2 separate regions of the Homo sapiens genome follow, and region 2 is linked to region 1. Evidence: promoter capture Hi-C in 16 types of primary human blood cells and fetal thymus (Javierre and others, 2016). All regions are on one chromosome and are shown on one strand. Each heading gives the region's core, a stretch centred on a gene start or on the middle of the fragment in contact. The rest is flanking DNA. Distances are from core to core; before and after follow the strand shown. Region 1 holds the start of CORO7 (coronin 7). Region 2 holds the start of SMIM22 (small integral membrane protein 22).

Evidence for each region. Contacts are between HindIII fragments. The CHiCAGO score rates a contact against its expected background, and 5 or more counts as called.
Region 2: the fragment with the promoter of SMIM22 here is called in contact with the fragment with the promoter of CORO7 in region 1 in 1 of 17 cell types (neutrophils); the score reaches 8.7 in neutrophils.

Annotation. Positions count from the first base shown.
Region 1 is chr16:4,414,702-4,418,195 of GRCh38, reverse strand. CORO7 (coronin 7) reads left to right here and starts at 1,600. Exons shown (of 28, transcript NM_024535.5): 1 at 1,600-1,737. The coding sequence starts at 1,678. CORO7-PAM16 (CORO7-PAM16 readthrough) reads left to right here and starts at 1,600. Exons shown (of 31, transcript NM_001201479.2): 1 at 1,600-1,737. The coding sequence starts at 1,678. It overlaps LOC124903635 (a long non-coding RNA gene), which reads left to right. Exons shown (of 3, transcript XR_007064963.1): 3 at 1,235-1,471. The HindIII fragment of the contact is 33,533 bases long and covers 1-3,494 here.
Region 2 is chr16:4,793,125-4,796,618 of GRCh38, reverse strand. SMIM22 (small integral membrane protein 22) reads right to left here and starts at 1,250. Exons shown (of 4, transcript NM_001253794.2): 1 at 1,170-1,250; 2 at 761-904; 3 at 571-671; 4 at 128-429. The coding sequence starts at 884. The coding sequence ends at 388. The HindIII fragment of the contact is 14,181 bases long and covers 1-3,494 here.

The DNA.
Region 1 (3,494 bases), core at 351-2,850:
AATTTTTATATTTTTAGGACAGACAGGGTTTCACCATCTTGGCCAGGCTGGTCTTGAACTCCTGACCTGGTGATCCACCCACCTTGGCCTCCCAAAGTGCTGGGATTACAGGCGTGAGCTACCGCGCCCGGCCAACCTGATGATTTTCTAAAAACCTTTTTGGACTGGGCGCAGTGGCTTATGCCTCTAATCCCAGCACTTTGGGAGGCTGAGGCAGGTGGATCACTTGAGGTCAGGAGTTTGAGACCAGCCTGGCCAACATGGCAAAATCCCATCTCTACTAAAAATACAAAAATTAGGAGTAGTGGCGCACACCTGTAATCCCAGCTGCTTGGGAGGCTGAAGCAGGAGAATCGCTTGAACTCAGGAGGTGGAGGTTGCAGTGAGCTGAGATGACACCACTGCACTCCAGCCTGGGCAACAGAGTGAGACTCTGTCTCAAAACAAACAAACAAAAAGCCTTTTCAATAAACCACAAGTGACTTTGGTTCACAGTAAATACACTTCTGCCCGAACTAAGATAAAATGTAAGCATTGCTTTTCAAACCTTAGAAATGCAAGAATCAGCTGGGTGCGTTGGCTCATTCCTATAATCCCCACACTTTGGCAGGCCAAGTTGGGAGGACTGCTTGAGTCTCGTTCGAGACCAGCCTGACCATCATGGTGAAACCCCGTCTCTTACTAAAAATAAAAAATTAGTTGGGCGCGGTGGCAGGCGCCTGTAATCCCAGCTATTCGGGAGGCTGAGGCAAGAGAATTGCTTGAACCCGCGAGGCAGAGGGTGCAGTGAGCTGAGATCGCGCCACTGCACTCCAGCCTGGGTGACAGGGACTCCGTGTCAAATAAATGAATAAATACTAAAGAAAAATTAAAAGCTATTATTATTATTATTTTTAGAGGCAGGGTCTCTTTCTGTCTCCCAGGCTGGAGTGCAGTGGCACGGTCACAGATAACTGCAGCCTCGACCTCTTGGGCTCAAGGGATACTCCTGCCTCAGTCTCCCAAAGTTCGGGATTACAGACCTGAGCCACCGCGCCTGGCCGGATGCAGAGCGCCTGGCCGGATGCAGAGGCTTTTGAGTAGGCCCGGTGGACAGGGATTTGCTTTAGACCTGGGCCCCTGTTCCCCCTCTGCCTCTTACCACTGGTGTGACCTGGGGACCGACAGTTTACACTCTCCTTTAGCCGGGGGTTTCCTGTCTCTGAAATGGAGCTAATTTCTCCCCTCTCTACAGGAAGAGGTAGATAGTGCTGGAAGGCGTGCTAGGTACACCGCAAAGACTCCACAGCAAATCCTGCACACAAAATCGCGAATGCTGCAGCCGAGACCCCACGCAAGCAAGCACCGCAGGAGACGTGGGCTGACAGCTGCGCCCCACGTGACCTCCCACCCGCGCCAGTCCGTCCCCTCGGTATCAGGGCGTGGCCTCGCGGGGCGGCCGTACCTGGATTGGCCGGGAGGCGGGACCGGTGGTGCGCGCGCGAAAGGAGAGGGGCTTGGGGGCGTGGCCCAGGGGGCCGGAGACGGCTGCGATTGGCAGTGGGGCGCGCCGGGGGCGTGACCGCGGCATTGGGTCCCGGGTGGGGCCGAGGCAGCGGGAGTCGCGGTTGCTCAGCGTGCACCTGAGACCCGACGCCCGGGGTCCTCGAAGACGCGTCCGCCGCCGTGCCCGTCGCCATGAACCGCTTCAGGGTGTCCAAGTTCCGGCACACCGAGGCTCGGCCGCCCCGCCGCGAGGTGAGTCCGGCCCGAGGACCGGGCGCTGTCGCCTCGGGCCCCGTCCGGCTGCCCCTCCCCCTGCCCGGACCCCACAGGGGTGCCCTCCAGGGCCGTCTGGAACCCCGAGACCTCCATCCCCGGGGAACCCCCCTTCAGGCCAGGGCCCCGGCGTCCGGGCCGTTTCGTCGCCGCCGGAGGGCAGAGTCCGGCACTCCCGTGACTCGCTCTGGCGCTCGGTGACCCTGGCGGTCTGCCCGCCTCGCCCACCTCGCCCCGGGACCCCCGAGGCGGCGCAGCCCTCCTAGCCGGGGCCCAGGCCTGCGAGGCCGCCTGCCTTCCCAGCTTCCGGTCGGCCTCGCCGGGAGCCGGGGCTCGGGGCGCTGCCGGCGCCTGGCTCCTCCTCCCTGCCGCCCCGGGTCGCCCCTGCCCCTGGCTGGGCTGTGGGGAGACGCCCCTCTCTCCTCTGGCCCCGGCGAGCCCAAGTGTGTCAGTGGTGGGGAGGGAGCCCCTCGGCCGCACGCGCCCCTCCCTCGGGTTTCCGCCGGTGCTTCCTCCTCTCGCCGCTGGCGCAAGCTCTTTCTTTATCTCGGTGATGCTGCCACGGCTGGGTGGGGCCTGGGGAAGCCTGAGCAGGTGGAGCCCCAAAGAATTGCTGAGCCAGGTGCCGGGAGACCCTTCGGACCCCCGAAACGGCAGGAGGACTGATGAGGGGTGCGCCTTGGAAACGATGTCAGCTCTGCTCTTCCGCTTTCCGTGTTATTTGTAAGGCCTGGGAGTGTCCTCCGATAACTGGGCCTAGGAGTTGACCTCAAGTGACCCCATCAGGGTCCCAGAGCAAGTCAGGGCAGTCTGGGTAGAGGTTCCGTTTTTGTAGTGTGGACTATATTTCCTCTGCTTCCACTTTATGCTGTGCTAAGCTGCTGGAGACATCCCGGTGAACACAACGGCATTTTCCTTCCCCTGTGGCACTTGTAGCCTCATGAGGGAGACAGCAAGCAGACAAACAAGAGCATTGGAGGTTTTCATAACGACATTGAAGAACACACATGAGGGACTGGGATGGAGAATGGAGGGGGCCAGTCTCAGTAGCGTGGTCAGGAAAGGCTGCCTGGAGTAGATGGCATTTTAGCTGAGGCCAGAAGGGTGAGAATTGAGAAAGAGCCTGGTGGAGAAATGGAAAGTGAGCATGAGTGGATGGAGGGGATGGCCGGAGCAGTATGGTGACAGATGAGTCCAGAGTGGTCCTGCAGAACCCAAGGGCCACCGGAAGAAGTTGGGTTTTATTCTGATTGCAGTGCAGAGCCATTGAAAAGTTAGGGGGAGGGGCTGGATACCATGACTCACGGTAATCCCAGTACTTTGGGTGGACTGCTTTGAGCTCAGGAGTTCGAGACCAGCCTGGGCAACATTGCGAAACCCCTCTGAACAACAAGTTAAAGAAAAAAAAATTAGCCAGGTGTGGTGACTCACTCCCGTGGTCCCAGCTACTTGGGAGGCTGAGGTTGGAGGATCTCTTGAGCCGAGGAAGTGGAGGTTGCAGTGAGCCGAGATTGTGCCACTACACACCAGCCTGGGCAATAGAGTGAGACACTGTCTCAAAAAAAGAAAAAAACAAACAAGAAAAGTTAGGAGGAGGTACCTAGGTTTGCATCAAGACAGCCGGTGGCTCTGAGTGCAGTTAAGTACTGCTTGGAGGGGTCTGGAGAATACTTGAGGGGCCCTAATTCTTGCTCCTGGGTGGGCCTTAGTCCAGCAACATAAACAGATAGGCATGG
Region 2 (3,494 bases), core at 1-2,500, 380 kb before region 1:
CAGCCTCCCGAGTAGCTGGGACTACAGGTGCCCGCCACCACGCCCGGCTAATTTTTTGTATTTTTAGTAGAGACGGGGATTCACCACGTTAACCAGGATGTTCTCGATCTCCTGACCTCGTGATCCGCCCACCTCGGCCTCCCAAAGTGCTGGGATTATAGGTGTGAGCCACCGCGCCCGGCCTGAGACCAGCTCCCCTCCCAGCTAGGTGACTGAGGATGACCTGGCACAGTCGTGCTGACTGAAGGCTTGGAGAGGCCAGGTGGCCACCTGAGTGGGGCGGCGAGTCCCGCGTCACCCACCCAGACGGGGACTGGAAGACACTGCAGACTCAGGCTCTGGGCAGACAGAAGGCTTTGTTACTGCCACCGGGCAGGAGACACAGGGTCAGGGTTCCAGGGCCAAGTTATCCACTCCCTTGGGTCTTTCCTGCACGAGAAGCACAGCGGGACCAAGCAGGTTCGCTCGTTGTTCCCTAGGGGGATGAGCACCCTTCCCGCCACTCCCCTCACCTTCCGCCTCCACCCCCAGTACAGTTCCGTGCAGGTCCCAGAGGCCGGCAGGGCTCACCTTCCAGGGGCTCACCTTCCTGGGGCTTTCCCTGCGGGGCCCGGGGGAGCTGCAGCAGCAGCAGTGGGCGACGACCAGCAGCAGCAGGAGCAGCACGGTGCCTGGGGACAGGACAGGCGTCCAGGTGTGGCCCCAACCTGGAGCCCAGGGCAGGGGGCTGGGAGGACCCAGAGGCCACAGCCACACTTACCCATGAAGGTGAGGAAAACAATGAAGGCAACAGTGTCCCATGTGGACTGGAAAAACTGGTGGCTCTTCAGTCTCCCCAGGACTTCCTGAACCGTGGCCTCCAGCTCCTCTGTGGACACAGCCATCTTGGCGTGCACCGTGCCACCTGCCCCGGTCCCCCAGAGGCTGCATCAGGATCCTGGGCTCAGCTCAGCGGGGACCACATCCAGGCTTCCCACAGCCCAGCCACTGCCCGCTCCTGGCCCAGCGCCAGCTTCCCCACCCCCTCCCACTCCACTTCTCCCTCGGCCCCAGGCCCAGCTTCTCTCCTTGCCCAGCCCTGTGGTCCTTACCCTGACAACCTTCTCCCCAGCCACTGTCATCTCCCCTCTCTCTCCCCCTGGCAGCCCAGCCCCCAGGCCCCCACCTACCTCCTAGAAGCCTCCAATTCCCCCAACCAGGCAGGTCCTGGGGAGCACAGGCTGCTTCCTGCTTCCGGCTCCACACCACCTGAGGCCTTGGCAACCAGCCCCGCCCTCCCCAGGGCCAGCAGAGGCCGCCCAGCCCAGGGGAGAGGGCCCAGGCCCAGCAGGTGCGCTCCCTGGCTCCCCACTGCTGGAGGCCCAGGGAGGAAGACGCCGGCCTGTGGCTTCTTCACTCCTGAGACTTCTTACCTTTCCTCAGTATCCCAGATATGCAGCTGGGAACACCTGTGTGCTTGGCCACTGCTGACTTCGTGAATGAAAGAGAGAGAGATGGGAGAGAAGGTGGGTGGGAGGGAGGGGGAAGGGGGAGAAAACCTACCTGCATCCCACGACCCTTGAGCAGCTAGGACAGGTGTGCCTGCATCATAGAGTTGTCCTTGGAATCCTCAACGATTGGTTCCAGCACCTCCGTGGGTACCAAAATCCACAGATGCTATAAACTCCCTGATATAAAATGAGGCAGTATTTGCATATAACCTGTGCATATACTCTATACTTTAAATCATCTCTGGATTACTTATAATACTTAATATATTTGGCCTGGCCTGGTGGCTCACACCTGTAATCCCACCACTTTGGAAGGCCAAGTTGGGCAGATCACTTACTTAGATCAGGAGCTTGAGACCGTCCTGGCCAACATGGCGAAACCCCACCTCTACTAAAAATACAAAAATTGGGCCGGGCGCAGTGGCTCACGCCTGTAATCCCAGCACTTTGGGAGGCAGAGGCGGGTCAGCTGAGGCCAGAAGTTTGAGACCAGCCTGACTGACCAACGTGGAGAAACCATGTCTCTACTAAAAATACAAAATTAGCCAGGCGTGGTGGCACATTCCTGTAATCCCAGCTACTAGGGAGGCTGAGGCAGGAGAATCACTTGAACCCGGGAGGCAGAGGTTGTGGTGAGCCGAGATCACGCCATTGCACTCCAGCCTGGGCAACAAGAGCAAAACTCCATCTCAAAAAAAAAAAAAGATAAAAATACAAAAATTGGTCGGGTGTGGTGGCTCATGCCTGTAATCCCAGCACTTTGGGAGGCCGAGGCAGGCGGATCACAAGGTCAGGAGATCAAGACCATCCTGGGTAACACGGTAAAACCCCATCTCTACTAAAAATACAAAAAATTAGCCGGCCATGGTGGCACGCGCCTATAGTCCCAACTACTCAGGAGGCTGAGGCAGGAGAATTGCTTGAACCCTGGAGGCAGAGATTGCAGTGAGCCGAGATCTCGCCACTGCACTCCAGCCTGGGTGACAGAGCAAGACTCCATCTCAAAAAATAATAATAATACAAAAATTACCCCGCTGTGGTGGCGGGCACCTGTAATCCCAGCTACTTGGGAGGCTGAGGCAGGAGAATCGCTTGAACCCAGGAGGCGGAGCCTGTAGTGAGCCAAGATCATGTCACCGCACACCCGCCTGGGTGACAGAGCAAGACTATCTCAAAAAAAATAAATTGGCTGGGTGCGGTGGCATACTCCTGTAATCCCAGCTAATCGGGAGGCCAAGGCAGGAGAATCGCTTGAACCCAGGAGGCAGAGGCTGCAGTGAGCCAAGATGGCACCACTGCACTCTAGCGTGGGTGACAGAGCAAGACTCCATCTCAAGAAAAAATTGTATACATATATTTATTTAATATAATGTATGCTAGGTAAATAATTGTTACATTGTATAGGGAACAGTAAGCAAAAAAGTCTGTACATGTCCAATAGAGATGTGATTTGTTTCCAAATATTTTCTGTCTGTGGTTGGCTGAAGCCACAGATGTGGAACCTGTGGATACGGAAGGCCAGCTGTACTAGGACTCTTCACTGTCCTTATTTTCTCTATTTTACTACTTGAAAATATCAGCTAATGTGGGGCTCTGCATCGAGCACTGTGCTGTGTCACCTGGTTTATTCCTCATAGCAATCCTAAAGTGGGTATTATTGCTTTTTCCATTTTACAGATGAGGAAACGGAGGCCTAGAGAAGTTTAGCCATTAGCCCGTCACACACCTAATGTATCCATGTCCCAATGCTGCCGTAACACTACCACAAACTCTGTGGCTTCAAACAACACAAATGTATTGCCCTATGGTTCTGAAGGTCAGAGTCTAAAATGGGTCGACCAGGCTGTGTTCATCCTGAAGGTTCTAGGGCAGAGTCCATCTTTTGCCTTGTCCAGCTTCTAGAGGGTGGTGGCATTCCTGGGCTTGTGGTCTCCCATCCCTCCACCCTCTGCTTCCAGGCTCACGTCTCCTCCTCTGACTCTAATCCTCCTCCCTCCCTTTTTT